Regions from separate parts of the Homo sapiens genome. Here all the other regions are linked to region 1. Evidence: promoter capture Hi-C in human tissues and cell types (Jung and others, 2019). All regions are on one chromosome and are shown on one strand. Each heading gives the region's core, a stretch centred on a gene start or on the middle of the fragment in contact. The rest is flanking DNA. Distances are from core to core; before and after follow the strand shown.

The links. Contacts are between HindIII fragments. The study calls those that stand out against the background at their distance.
Region 2: a contact is called between a fragment that was not itself captured here and the fragment with the promoter of ALDH3A1 in region 1, in 1 of the 25 tissues and cell types used here (lymphoblastoid cells).
Region 3: a fragment that was not itself captured here is called in contact with the fragment with the promoter of ALDH3A1 in region 1 in 5 of the 25 tissues and cell types used here (aorta, dorsolateral prefrontal cortex, mesenchymal stem cells and 2 more).
Region 4: a fragment that was not itself captured here is called in contact with the fragment with the promoter of ALDH3A1 in region 1 in 5 of the 25 tissues and cell types used here (dorsolateral prefrontal cortex, lymphoblastoid cells, mesendoderm cells and 2 more).

Annotation. Positions count from the first base shown.
Region 1 is chr17:19,746,653-19,750,178 of GRCh38, forward strand. It overlaps ALDH3A1 (aldehyde dehydrogenase 3 family member A1), which reads right to left and starts at 1,646. Exons shown (of 11, transcript NM_000691.5): 1 at 1,607-1,646. The HindIII fragment of the contact is 25,713 bases long and covers 1-3,526 here.
Region 2 is chr17:19,246,650-19,250,175 of GRCh38, forward strand. The region is part of intron 1 of EPN2 (epsin 2); the gene reads left to right. Among named protein-coding and RNA genes, the nearest start is that of EPN2, 11 kb to the left of the region's middle. The HindIII fragment of the contact is 3,795 bases long and covers 1-3,438 here.
Region 3 is chr17:19,292,891-19,296,416 of GRCh38, forward strand. The region is part of intron 4 of EPN2 (epsin 2); the gene reads left to right. Among named protein-coding and RNA genes, the nearest start is that of EPN2-AS1, 12 kb to the right of the region's middle. The HindIII fragment of the contact is 3,874 bases long and covers 6-3,526 here.
Region 4 is chr17:19,341,425-19,344,950 of GRCh38, forward strand. B9D1 (B9 domain containing 1) reads right to left here. Exons shown (of 7, transcript NM_015681.6): 6 at 2,366-2,433; 7 at 1,751-2,037. The coding sequence ends at 1,895. MIR1180 (microRNA 1180) reads right to left here and starts at 3,150; the gene lies at 3,082-3,150. RefSeq lists an enhancer at 1-495. The HindIII fragment of the contact is 6,595 bases long and covers 1-3,526 here.

The sequences.
Region 1 (3,526 bases), core at 396-2,895:
GCATGTGTGTGTGTGCGTGTGTGTGCATGTGCGTGTGTGTGTGCGTGCGTGTGTGTGCATGTGCGTGTGTGTGCGCGCGTGTGCGTGTGTGTGTGGGCGTGCACGCTCTAACATGCAAGAAAGGACTAGAACGGTAGCCCCCGACACGATGAGACAACTGATGGGGGTGGAATTATTGATGATCTGTTTTCCTCTTATGCAATGTTTGACTTTTTGCAATGAGCTTGTATTTTTTAAATTTTGGTGCGTTTTAAGATAGGCACTACATGCTCATGAAACAAAATGTAAAATATAGCAAAGGGGCACAGAAAAAAGTCTGCCTCCCTCCTCCCTGCTCCATCAGCTGTCAGGTGCTGCCCCACAGAGGGGCCACTGTTACCAGTTCCTTACTCCCCTTCCTGAGATACTCAGCCCACTTGCAGACCCGGCATAACTTTTAACATCAGCAGAAATAGGGTATTTCCATTTTTTTAAAAAACCCTATATATCATATGTAATATATAATTATATTGTATATAGATATATGGTCCTGCCTACATTCCAGCGAGTGGCTTCCAATCCTTCCTCTGCCTCCCCTCCCCATAGGCTGACCCCTAATCCCAGGCTTTCTGCACAGGGAGGAGGGACCTGCTGGCATTGAGGGTGCTCTAAGCCTGGCCCTTCCATGGTCCCTCCCTATGTTCTGATAGGAGGCTGGGAAAGCCCCCTCACTGGGACCTCCTCAGTCCCATGGGCCAGGCCCCTCCTGCTGACCACAACCCAGGAGAGAAGGTCCCGCTTCTCTCCCGAGCCTTGTACGGTCAAACCAAGGCAGGCAGCCCAGGTGGGAAGAGCCTGGTGAGCGTGGGACGGGATTGGCCTTGCACCCCAGCATCGCCACTTGGAACTGTGGTCTCTGGGCTGGACGGCCTTCCCAGGACTTCCCCGAGAGACAGGTTAACAAAGGTGCCACTTCACAGAGATGAGTGGACACCATCACGTCGCAGCTGCACCCAAATGGGAGCTGCTGCAGCATGCACTGGGGGCCTCCCCAGAGCCCGTCGCCTCACACCCCACATTCCTGCACCCCGCTCCTCTCACCTGTGCCAGTGTTGACTTTGCCCCCCAGTGACACCTCCTCCCCTCCTCATTGCCTTCCATCCTCACAAAAGCTCTGTAGTGATGCCCATGAAGAAGAAACGGTTATGAGTGCATTTTACAGATGAGGAAAGGGAGACTGAGAAACGTTTAATGCTGTATCTGATCTCACAGTTAGCAGGTGGCATGTCAGGGTTTGAACCCACATGCATCTCTGTCAGCAGCTCATGCCTTTAGCACTCGGCTCTGCTGCCTTCCTTCCAGTCATGGAGTCTGACGGCCCATCAGGGCCTCTCACTCCACGGCCACCTTGGTGTCCCTGCTCCGCGGATCCCTGGGACCTCTGCCTCCTGGTTTGGGGGATGGCAGAGCTGCCAGAGGTCCAGGAGGATGCTCCAGAGATGATGGTCCCAGAGGCAGGGACCCCCTGGAGAGATGATGTAGGACTCTTGACACTTAGGGCCCCGGCTCTGAGTGCAGACTCCACCTAGACAAGAGAAAAAATAAGGAATGCAGGGAAGAGGATTACCTTTGACACAGCCTCTCCCGGTAACTGGGGCTCCTGGAACGGCAAGAGCCAAGAGGGGACGTATTTAAGGACCCTGCTTCCCGTCCATTGAGCCCTTGGAGTTCCTGCCCAGGAAGTTTGCGTGACAAGAAAAAAAAATATTCAAATGTGGGGTGTGGCGTCCTCTGGACCTCTGCTCCCTACAGCCCAGGTTTTGGGGATTAGGTCCCGGGCTGTTTGCTTTTGTTCACTTCTGAAATGCGAGAATGTTTCTGAAGGCTTGGGCAGGGCACATCTCCAATCTTCAAAAGAGCCTATGTTTGCCCTGGGCGTGGGGGCTGCTGATTGATTCAGCCTGGCATGGAGCTCTTCCAGCTTTCCAGACTTGCCGCTGCCAGATGCGGTTCTCTGAGTTCTCTGGTTACATAAGATCGGCAGGGCTCAGCCACGAACCACAGTGAGAGCATGCAGCTCCCCCGAAACGCACCCCCAGCCACCGCTGCCCCGGGCCCTTCACATCCCCCAGTGTGCACAGGGCCCCATTGAGTCAGAGATCCTAACCCTGGGGAGCCACAGGCTGGGGACTTTTGATGGGGGTCTCCAATCCATAAATCTGCTCTCTCGTTGAATAGCTGAGAAGAGGGCCAAGGGTCTGTGTGGTCACCGAAAACCAGAGATGCTTGGGAAGGAAGGAGTCTGGAAAAGCCGTTCCCACGCTGTCTGATCAATGTTCGCTGGGCTCCTGCTCTGCACCACGCTGTGGGGAGGAGGCAGGTGTGGAACAGACTCTCGGCCCCTCTCACCAGGCGCTTCCCGCCACCCTCACCCGCCTGCAGGCAGACTGCTTACCAGCATGGGGTCCCTGCTTCCCATTTCATTCGAGGAAAACACAAGGTTCCGGTCCTGGCCTACGAGTCCTGAGGATGTGCTCTGGCCCTCCTGCTTCTCTCCACCTGGAGCCCCCTTCCCCTACATCCACCCACACGGCTACGCTCCAATGTGCTGTGGAAAATAGCACAATGCTGTCGTCTTCCTCCATTATTTTTTCTCTGGAGCGTTTATATCTTGTTTGCTACCTGTCCCTTAACTCCTGACAGCTAGAATTTGATTTGTTCACTGCTGTAACCTCCATACAGCATTTATAGTAGATGCTCAATAAATATTTATTGACTGACAAAATAAACAGGAAATTTCAAAATAATGTGAACACTGTAGTAACCAGGTAGGCAGAGGATGCTAGAGGGGCTGGGGTGAGAGTCCGTGGGAGGGAACATCATCTGAGCTGAGTGAGAAGCATTTGGGCAAGGAACAGCAAGGGGGCTGGAAGAGCAGAAGCAAAGGCACAGAGGCTGGGAACGTTATGTCACGAAAAAGTGCGATGTGTCCACTGTTGCCAGCAGGAGGTGTGGAGGTGAATGACTCTCCTGGGGCGGGGGCTCACGGAGGCCTGTGGGCCAGGCTGGCTGTGGGGGTGCAGGGCGCTGAGGAGATTATCAGACAGACAAATGTCTGCTATTTTTTGTTTTAGAGAACCCCCTGGACAGGGCACAGTGTGAGAAAGGTCTAGCCCAAAGGCTGCAGCTTCCAGCAATGCAGGCAAGAAATGACGAGACCCCCAAATAAGACTAACAGAATGGGAAACATTCCAGAAACAGCAGAAAGAAGCATCTGCAGGACCTCGCACCTGTGCAGGGGCTGGACTGGGTGGTAGGTGCAAAGTGGGGTGCCTCCTGAGAGGGGAGAAGACCGAGCCTGTGCCAGCCTCTCCCCTTTTCTGGTGGCAGCAGCTGATTATCTTTGCAGGCAACCCCTTCCTACTTGGTGAGATGATCAACCAGGTGCCTTCTCCAGGCCAGCCATGGGTTGGGGTGGGCTCCCCATGAGGCCTCCCTGACTCTCCTGGGAATTTGGATCTTGAGTAGAGGGCAGAATGCAAGGCCG
Region 2 (3,526 bases), core at 291-2,790, 500 kb before region 1:
AAGTTGTATTAAAAGGCCCCTTCCGCCCCCCCCAAAAAAATATCCTAGCAATAAAGGGACGCAGTTGTTTTGTTTTGTTTTTTTTTTCCCCCCTGAAAGCAAGTCCTCCCTGTGTGCCTTTTTTTTTTTTTTTTTTTGAAGCGGAGTCTCGCTCTGTCACCCAGGCTGGAGTGCAGTGGCGCGATCTCAGCTCACTGCAGGCTCCGCCCCCGGGTTCACGCCATTCTCCTGTCTCAGCCTCCCAAGTAGCTGGGACTACAGGCGCCCGCCACCACGCCTGGCTGATTTCTTTTTGTATTTATGGTAGAGAGGGGGTTTCACCGTGTTAGCCAGGATGGTCTTGATCTCCTGACCTCGTGATCTGCCCACCTCAGCTTCCCAAAGTACTGGGATTACAGGCGTGAGCCACTGCGCCCAGCCCCCTGTGTGCCTTTTTGATACTCAGAGCTGTCCTGGGATATAATGACTATACTATGGATGACAAAATTTGGGAAACATCTGATTGGAGAAAGAATTTGTATGTCACTTTATGAGAAGCAGCTGGGAGATGTAGAAGTATGGGCATTTCAAGGACAGTTTCATGACTGAGGCCAGTGTCAACCTGAAAAATATGGAACACGTGATCTAGAGGCAAATAATGGTTATAAATGAAATGCCACCAAGAACTTAATCTAATTGAGAAGACAAAGTTACTATTTGTGAGACAGAAGCTAGCAGTTTGTTGAGCCATGATTTTGATTCTTTGTCAGGGGGTCAAGAATGGAGAAAAAATTTAGAAGTCAGGGAAGCTATCAGGAGAAGGTAGGATTTGAGCTGGACCTTGAAGAACAAGAAACAGTATCCCTAAGTGGAAGGCAGATGGGAAGGTATTTCGGATCTCAGGAACAGCAGGAGTTAAAGCTTGAGATGGGATGGGGTAGGTGCTTGAGTGTGTGCTGGCTCCTGCAGCTGGTGACGGGTGGATGCCTGCTGGGAGCAGTGAGCTCCCAGGTGGCCAGATGGCCACTGGCTCTGATGAGACAGCAGCCTTGGGGTTTGGTTTTCTGGGTAGTAGGGAGCAGGGTAGGTCTTGAGTGGGTGCCACCTCAAGTGTTTGAGAAGGGGGCCCTGCGGAGTAATCTCTGTGGGTGGGGGCCTGGCCCAGACTGGCTTCCTGAGACTGGCTAGATAGCAGTTCTAGAGATGGAGAATGAAGAGAAGCCAGAGTTGAGTTGTGTTTAGGGAGTAAAGGGGGCCTCAGTGCTGGCTGGGAAGTTTGGATTTGACTCCCTGGGAGCCTGCAAATCATGTGGCCTGGAAAGCTAGAAAAATGCCCATGATGGGGCCCTACCCCAGACCAATCAAGGGGGAGCCAGTAATTTTTAGAAGTGCCCCCAGTTAATTCTCATAGTCTGTGTGGGTTGAGAAGCTGAGCTGTGTGCTTGGAGGAGCCTCTGGGAGTGTCAGGGATTGGAAGGGGAAAATTGAAGCCAGAAGAAGCCTTTGAAGTAATGTGGTGCGGGGACTGGGTTCCTGAGCTATTGTAGAATGACTGTGGATTGGCTGGTGGAATCAGGGCTGGAGAGGAACTGGCAGAAATGATCACCCTGGCTGAAATACGCCTCTAAGCTACCTTGGTAAATAAAGAAGGACAGCTTAGTAGAAAGTTTAAACAAGGGATGGGCAGAAGAGACTGTGATCCACCTATTTGGCAAGCCTCCTTTCAACCTGCATTTTAGCCACAGAGCAGGCACAGCAGGTTCTTATCTGTTCTCTCAAGCTTGCTAGCCAAGTTCCTCCCCACACCCTAAATTGTAATGACTGCAGCAGATGGTACATGTAAAATTTTAAATTACATTTCTTTAATTTTATTAAAGATAGTTGTAATGTGGAGTTACTAATTTAGATAGATTCAGTTTATTAGTCAAAGTCTAGAAGTGGGATTTTACATGGTACAGTTAATGCATGTCACAGTGTCATTGTAATATATGGTATTTCAGTCAAAAAATGAGTTTATAGTCCACTTCATTTATTCTTTACTTAATGCTTATTGAGCACATATGTATTATGTGCTGTTGGCTGGGAACGCCTGAGTGAATAAAATTTAAGTTCCTCTTACATTTCAAAATAGTTTTTGGTCTGCAGATGGTGGCTCTTGCCTCAGTAACAAGTAATATTAGCTTTGGGAGATAGCTGGGGGAGGGAAGTTTAGAAAGTGGTGTCAGACACTAGAATGGAACCTGGGAACCAGAGAAGGCTTCGAGGAAATAGTATGTGAGTCGAGTCTTGAAGGAAAAGTGGGAGTTCTCAGGGACAGAGATGAGAGGATCCCTGGCCGAGGGAGCTGCATTATGCAGAGGCCTGAGCTGAGCAAGGAGGGCGCAGAGGAGGAAGAGCTGGACATGTGGCAGAGGCCCAGCTGCCTGCTGACCAGACTCTCCAGGCAGGACAGGCGAGCTTGGTGAGGTTTGACTCATGGGCTGTGGTTTTCACGTAGCCTTTTGGCGGTGAGTGGGCAGGACTGTGGGCCTTCCACCCCACCTCTAATCAGAGCATCTCTGTGCTGGTGAAAGTGGGGAGCTAAAAAGAGCCCACTTGAGAAGTGTTCCTCTGCTGTTGAAGAACAACCGAAGTTATCTGGAGCTGCAGTGAGCAAGCTGGCACCCTGAGGGTGGCTGGGAGGGAGAGGTTGGAGGTTTCTTCCAGAGGACCTGAAGAGCCCTCACTTTTTTCTGTTTGCAGTGAGATGGATGTTCCCTCCTCTACTCCAGGCCAGTTTCCCAAGGCCTCTGGGTAATGTCTATGTGATTAAACAGTCTCTTGGGAATAGAACTCCTTTCAGTTAAGCAGCTCTATTTTCCAGAAATCCCTGGATAATTTTATGACCATGTGGTAAAGGTAAGGGACCTTGCGTTAACTTGGGGTGAATGTCAGAGAGCTGCTGTGTGCTAGGCTCCGTGCTGGGCACCCAGGAAATAGTCCTTGCCCTTGACTCTGCCCAGTCTGGACTAGAAAAGTGGTCCTTAGGTGGATTGAGCTCACAGATGTGTTTTGTTTGTGCCTCTTTCTAAACATTGAAATTGGTTGCTCTGTCAGTTTCCTATGGCTGCTGTGACAAATTGCCACAAATGCAGTGGCTTAAAACAATGCAGTTGTATAGGCGGGAAGTCCGACACAGGTCTTAATGGGCTGGGGTCATGGTGTAGTTAGAGCTGGTTCCTGCTGGAGGCTCTGGGGGGGAACCCGTTTTCTCTGCCTTTCCAACTTCTTGAGGCCTTTTGTGTTCCTTGGCTCGTGCTCCTTCCATCTTTAAAGCCAGCTGCGGTTTTCCACTCTTTCCCACGTGGTTTCTCTCTGACCCTGACTCTTCTGCCTCCCACTTCCACTTTTAAGGATCCTTGTGATTACGTTGGGCACACTGAATAATCCAGGATACTATGTTTTAAAGTCAGCTGATTAGAAACTGAATTTTTTTTTTTTTTTCAGACGGAGCCTCTCTCTGTCTCCTAGGCTGGAGTGCAGTGATGCCTATCTCGGCGCACTGCAA
Region 3 (3,526 bases), core at 693-3,192, 450 kb before region 1:
GTAAGTGAAGAAGCTAGAATTAGAACTGGGATTTTGAAGAACTCTGGTTCTCTTTCCTCTACTTGACAGTTTTTGAAATTGCTTTAAAATTTTTTCTGCAAAATAGGCAAATACGGTGTACACCTATTACAATTTTAAAATTATATGGTTCATCTTATATAATGCTTTTTTCTGTATTATTATTTTTTTCTTTTTAAGATGGGATTGGCTGGGCAGGGTGGCTCACGCCTGTAATCCCAGCATGTTGGGAGGTTGAGACGGGCAGATCACCTGAGGCCAGGAGTTCGAGGCCAGCTTGGCCAATATGGTGAAACCCATCTCTACTAAAAATACAAAAAAATTAGCCGGTCATGGTGGTGGGCACCTGTAATCCCAGCTACTCAGGAGGCAGAGGTGGGAGATTCGCTTGAACCTGAGAGGCAGAGGTTGCAGTGAGCCGAGATCACTCCAGCCTGGGTGACAAGAGCGAAACTCCATCTCAAAAAAAAAAAAAAAAAAAGACAGGGTCTTGCTCTGTTGCTCAGGCTGGAGTGCAGTGGTGTGATTGTGGCTCACTGCAGCCTCTACCTCCCTGGGCTCAAGTGATGCTCTCACCTTAACCTCCTGGGTTGCTGAGACTACAGGTGCATGCCACCATACCCAGCTTTTTTTTTTTTTTTTTTTTTTTTTACTTTCTGTATTTTGTAGAGGTGGGGTTTTGCCACGTTGCCCAGGCTGATCTGGAACTCCTGGGCTCAAGCTATCCTCTGGCCTCGGCCTCTCAAAGTGTTGAGATTACAGGCATGCAGGCACAAGCCACCACACTCAGCCAGGAATACCTAATTAAACCATTATTTAATTGGGCCCCAGATCTTAAGGAGCTCCTCTGATTGTCAGAATATGGGATTGTTCTCAGAATTGAAACAGTGCTATCAAGGCTGGGCGCGGTGGCTCATGCCTATAATCCCAGCACTTTGGGAGGCCGAGGCTGGTGGATCACTTGAGGTCAGGAGTTTGAGACCAGCCTGACCAACATGGTGAAACCCCTGTCTCTACCAAAAATACAAAAAATTAGTCGGGTGTGGTGGTGGATGCTTGTAATCCCAGCTACCCAGGAAGCTGAGGCAGGAGATTGCTTGAAGCTTGGGAGGCAGAGGTTGCAGTGAGCTGAGATCGCACCACTGTACTCCAGCCTGGGCAACAGAGCAAGACTCTGTCTTTAAAAAAAAAAAAAAGAAACAGTGCTATCAAAATTGCTGATTGGGAGGCCGGCTGCAGTGGCCCATGCCTGTAATCCTAGCACTTCGAGAGGCTGAAGCAGGTGAATTGCTTGAGCTTAGGAGTTTGAGACCAGCCTGGACAACACAACAAAACCCCATCGCTACAAAAAAAAAAAAAATTAACCAGGCATGGTGGTGTGCACCTGTAGTCCCAGCTACTTTGTGGGGCTGAGGTGGGAGGAATCGCCTGAGCTCAGGAAGTCCAGGCTGCAGTGAACCAAGATTGTGCCACTGCATTCTAGCCTGGGTGACAAAGCGAGACCCTTTCTCAAAAGAAAAAAAATATTGGGGATTGGGTTATTGATTAAATGATTGACATTGGCGTGTGCCATAGAAAATGGATCAATACAATATTTACCTGTTTTTTAAGGATCCTTTGTAGTATAGGTAAACAAACTATTGTTTATAAACTGTCAATAAGTGTAGAAGGTTTCTCGATGCTTTAAGGTTGAGTTTAGCAACAGTATGATACATAGTTGTTAGTTTTTGTTTAGTGATACAAGGCAGTTCCTCATTTTGACAGTTGCCTTTTCTTTTTTCCCTAAATCACTAGCTCTCAAGCTTTTAAATCTCCCAAAATGTCCCAAATCCTGGGCCACACCTTTGCCACACTTCTCAAATGAGAATCTCTGGGAGGGCCCCAGGTACTGCGGTGGCACTGACAGCATTGTACTGGGGGCTGCTGGTTCCCTGTCAGATGTTTTAAGTCAGATTGGCTAGCATAGTCACAGCTGCTGACGGTGTCTTTATTCATGGATGCTCAGTACAGCAGTTGCTAGTTTCAAATAGACAACTTCCAGGAGGCATTAAAAAAAAATTATATGACTAGAAACAGGAGGGAAGGCATGCAGATAGATTTGTCTTCCCATGGGAAGTAGGCCATATAAGTTAAATCTCTCTCTGTATCATATCCTTTTTTACTATCTTCAGAGTCTTTTTCACTACCTGAAATTCTCTTATTTGCTTTGTTTTGTCTCCCTGCACTAAAACAAGCTGTTAGAGCAGGAGCCCCGTTCATGCCCCGTGCTGTATCCCTAGTGTCTTTAGCACAACACCTGAACCAGGAAAGGTGCTCAGAACATACTTCATGCATGAGTGCTAAATAAGCCTCTCTTCTCCTCTCTCCTCACCTGAGGGCAGGAGTTCGAGACTAGCCTTGCCAACGCAGTGAAACCCCATCTCTATTAAAAATACACACACACACACACACACACACACGCGCGTGCGCGCAAAATAGCCAGGTGTAGTGGTGCATGCCTGTAGTCCCAGCTACCTGGGAGGCTGAGGCAGGAGAATCACTTTAACCCAGGAAGTGGAGGTTGCAGTGAGCCGAGATCGTGCCATTAGACTCCAGCCTGGGTGACAAGAGTGAAACTCCCTCTCAGAAAAAAAAGAAAAGAAAAGAAAAAATACATTTGAAGTCAATTCCAGAAATATAGGAATGCCTTATATATTTGTGTGGTTTCTCGATGCTTTAAGGTTGAGTTTAGCAACAGTATGATTCATAGTTGTTGTTTTTGTTTAGTGATACAAGGCAGTTCCTCATTTTGACAGTTGCCTTTTTTCCCTAAATCACTAGCTCTCAAGCTTTTAAATCTCCCAAAATGTCCCAAATCCTGGGCCACACCTCTCCCACACCTCTCAAATTAGAATCTCTGGGAGGGCCCCAGGTGCCGCGGTGGCACTGACAGCAGTGTGCTGGGGGCTGCTGGTTCCCTGTCAGGCTTTAATCAGTTGAAGGGCTCTTCCTCCCCTCTCCCCTCAACTCATGGCCCGTAGCAGTGTCTTTTTACAGAGTTACAGGCAGCTAGGCAACACTCCAACTTGGAGCAGCTTGGAAATTGATATTACACATCAAATTAGTCTCCTCCTGCTGACTGCTAATGGAAAGCTTAGTCCAGCTTAGTCCAGCTTGCAGTGGGATAACCAGAGCTCCTCCCGCAAGTCCACTCTGCGACCTGCTTCTCCAAGTACAGTGAGGGCATGAAGTCATTCATTCTATTTTTTTTTTTTTAAACTGGGACAGAGTCTCACCCCGTCACCCAGGCTGGAGTGCAGTGGCGTGATCTCGGCTCACTACAACCTCTGCCTCCCAGGTTCAAGCAATTCTCATGTCTCAGCCTCCCGAGTAGCTGGGACTACAGGTGCGTGCCACCACGCCCAGCTAATTTTTGTATTTTTAGTAGAGATGGGGTTTCATCATGTTGACCAGGCTGGTCTTGAACTCCTGACCTCAGGTGATCCACCCACCTCTGCCTCCCAAAGTG
Region 4 (3,526 bases), core at 1-2,500, 410 kb before region 1:
GAAGGAGCCCGTGTAGGAAAACTCACGATGGAGGGAGAAGGGGAGAAGAAAGACCCTTGAGAGCACTGTATCTCCCACACACCTGAGGCATGTCCTCAGGTAGGGTAAGGAAGGCAGCTAATGTGGGGTGGTTGTGGGAACAGAAGGGAGCGCCTTAGCTAAGCTGGCAGGGAGGGTGCTGGAGGCCTGAAGAGACAAAGGCTGTTAAGTTTCCTCAGAGAATGCATGAGGGAGTTGTCTAGGGAAACACAGACCTGGGCCATGGATGGAACGCGAGCCGTTGTGGCTCTGGGGGCTCAGGCAGGTGCAGGGCAGGCGAAGGAACAGCTGGCTGTCACCAGGGTGGAGACCTTGCCAGGTGAGCATAAACGAAGGATGGAGGGCACTATGGGAAGTGCATGCAGATGACCAAGAGTTCTAAACTGGGCTGGGAGGAAAGCAAGGAAAGAGGGGCTGATGGTTGGCGAAAAGGGGCTGGGCCAGGAGCTTGGAGGGCCTGGTGGTTTGAAGAGCACAGGGAAGCGCCACATGAGGGAGGGCCTGGCCTGAGGGAGGGATGCCTCAATCCAGACTTTGGAGGCAGTGCCTTCACCAGTAACAAGAGATATGCCTGCCTGGCTGTGAGGGGTAGAGGTGAAGACAGACTGTTCCAAGTGAGGAGGTTGAGGAAGAGGCAAGGACACACCCCTGCTCTAGGCTCACCGCACATGGGGAGTGGGAGGAAAAAGATTCCACTTAAGAGGGCTGCAGGGTACTGAGTGGGCTTCAGTAAGGCCAGAAGGCAGAGGGAACTTCCTATTCCGAGAAGATGGAATCACAGGAATTTTGCTGACAACAGACGATGAGTTTCAGAACGCACAGTGAGTTGGGGGGAGGGCACGGGAGTGCTCGTGAGATAAAAGGCAGAAGAGGGTCGGCCCAGATGGTCTCAGGGCAAGTGCCATGACGACAGTCCAGGGCAACATGGGCGAGGCTGGGAGGTGGGGGTTTGCCAGGAGCCTGTGGTTTCTCTTGGATCCCGCTGAGGGCAGTATCTAGGCTGGGGCACCATGTCTGCCGAAAGCTCAGTGGCAGGGCAGAGAGGGCCTGGGGCTGCCTCGTGAGGTGCGAGGGGTTCTTGTGAAGGTGGGGAGGCCCAGGGTCAGGGCCTCCCAAAGTAATGCTGAAGGGGCTCTGCTTCCAGAAGGGCCTGGACAACCTCAGAGGTCAGGGTGTTGAGCCAGGGGGCTCACCTTCCTCTCCTGCCAAGGGGCTGCCAGAAAGCTGGACCCCAGCCAGCGGCCTCCCACCTCTGAGAGGTTTCCAGCCCCCATCCTTGGACTGTGGGTAGGGGGGCAGAGAGGGGAGTGGGCAGGCTGAGGGTCTGCCATCCCCCGGGGTACCTCACCATTCCAGCTCCCAATAACAGGGTTCTGTCCTTGCCAAGGGAGGCTGGTGGCCAGAAGCATGGCTGAACGGGTGATTCTACTTAACCCCAAGCCTCTAAGGAGGGTGCCATGCCCAGTTAGTTCAAGGAACAATGTGTTGCGGTATAGAAAAGGCCACACAGCTTTGAGTGGCAGAACCTGGTTATGTCAAAGCTCCCATCCCACATGCCATCCTGCTGCACGGTCTGGTCTCCTGGCAGCTTCCACGGCACAAGGGGTAGGGACAGGGAGAGCCCTGGAGGTGGGGCCAGGAAAGGCCCAAGAGCCCCCAGCTCCTGTGGGGGAGGGGCTAAACAGGAGAGAAGGCAGCCCCAGGCCTAGGCTCTCTGAAAATGAGACTTTATTATACAAAACTATTCTGTGTGCCCCCAGCTCTGGCCACCAGGCTGCCCCTCAGGCCGATGGGCAGCGGCTGACTTCGGGAAGGCAGCCCTTCATTATCAGAGACTGTGCAGCCTGTGGAGCCTTCACTGGGGGAAGCTCTGGGGTGGGCTGGGCCCCAACACACCCTGTGTATCAGAAGGCCCAGTGTCATAGCCCAGTTTCCTCATGTCCTTGGTCACCACGTTGAAGAGGAGGGTGACAAAGCCCTGAGAACGGACACGGGTCACTGGGGACAGAAGGGCAGCATCAGCCAGGCTGGGCTGGGGCAGAGAGAGACCCAGGTTGATCTGGGAATCTCAGCCTCAGCGTTCTCATCTGTAAAATGGGGACAACAGTGCCTGACCCAAGCCCCTCACTGGGAGGTAAAGGGGCTGCCGGGACAGGCAGACATGACAAACCCTCTGTGCTCCAACCAGGCCCTCATCTGGGAACATTTGTGGGCTAGCTCCTATGTGCCTGGCAGGTCCCCGGCATTCACCCCAACCCTGGGCCCACCCACTCCCAGGCTGTAACCTGTATGGGGGATGGGGGTAAGAGAGGGGAGGGAGCTTTACCTTCCCGGCCTTCACCCTGAGCCACCACCTTGGGGTCTGTGTACTCGGGCCGCCGCCCCATGAACCAGCTGGGAACACAGAAGAACACAGGTGAGCAGGGCCCCACCTGGGCATTCCTGGTCTTGGACGACACTGGATGTGGGCTCTCCTCGGTTCAGAAACCAGCACTCTTGTTCCAACCGCACCCCACCCCCACCAGGAGTCAGGCCCTAAGCAGAGCCTTCCCAGTGGCTGGGCTCCAGCGTGGGGTGTCCCTTGCCGAGGTCACACAGCCTAGCCAGGCCTCATGTGCTCTGCAGCCACGCTGCCTCCGCTGGCCGGTTAGGCTTTTCCATCTCTGGCTTCCATGGGTTTGGTTCACTGGGAATGAGAGCTCAGGAAGATTCTGGGGTGGGGGTGCTACCTGAACCCCCAGAAATCCCAGAAAAGTGACAGCAGCTGAGGTGGGGGAGGGGAGGGGACAGTGTGACCCTCCAGCCTCCCTGGAAGGGGGTCCCACCCCAGAGAGTCTGTGGGGTGGGCAGAAGGGCCAGAACGGCTCCTCAGCCTTACCTCCCACTAGTGTGGGGTCCAGGACATGTCACTTCCCATCTTGGCACCCACCGCAGGCCCTGCCAGGGGCGGCACACAGCCACCAGGCTGAGCATGCGCCCTCCCCAGCCCCAGACCCCAGTTGGGCCAGGCGGGAGGCCAGGAGGCCGGGGGTGTCAGGCCCCGCCGCCGACACACCCACGCGAGCCGGAAACAACCAGGAGCACTATTCCCGGCCGGGTGGGTCCAGCAGCCGCGGGCTTCGCCCCGCCGGGACTCGCGGCCGCGCCTCCTCTGTACCACAGCTCCCAAGGTCCCCCCACGGACACACCCGGCCCCGAGGGTCGCTGGCAACCATGCCGACCCAAAAGCCCACGCACCGCCCTCCCCGCGGCCTCTCCGTCTCTGAGGTGGGCACCAGCGCTCACCTGGGGCGGCTGCAGAGGGGCCCAGGCCAGGGAGGGGCTCTCAGCTGCCGCAGAGTTGGCCTGTGGAGACCACAGCCAGGGAGCACTGCCCACCAGCCCCCAACCCCAAGGAGGGAGCCAGAGAGTGAAAGCCAGCAGGCGCTCCCCAAGGGGAAGGGATGGGCAGCCACAACCCCTGCGCCTCAGTTTCTCCTTTGGGAGA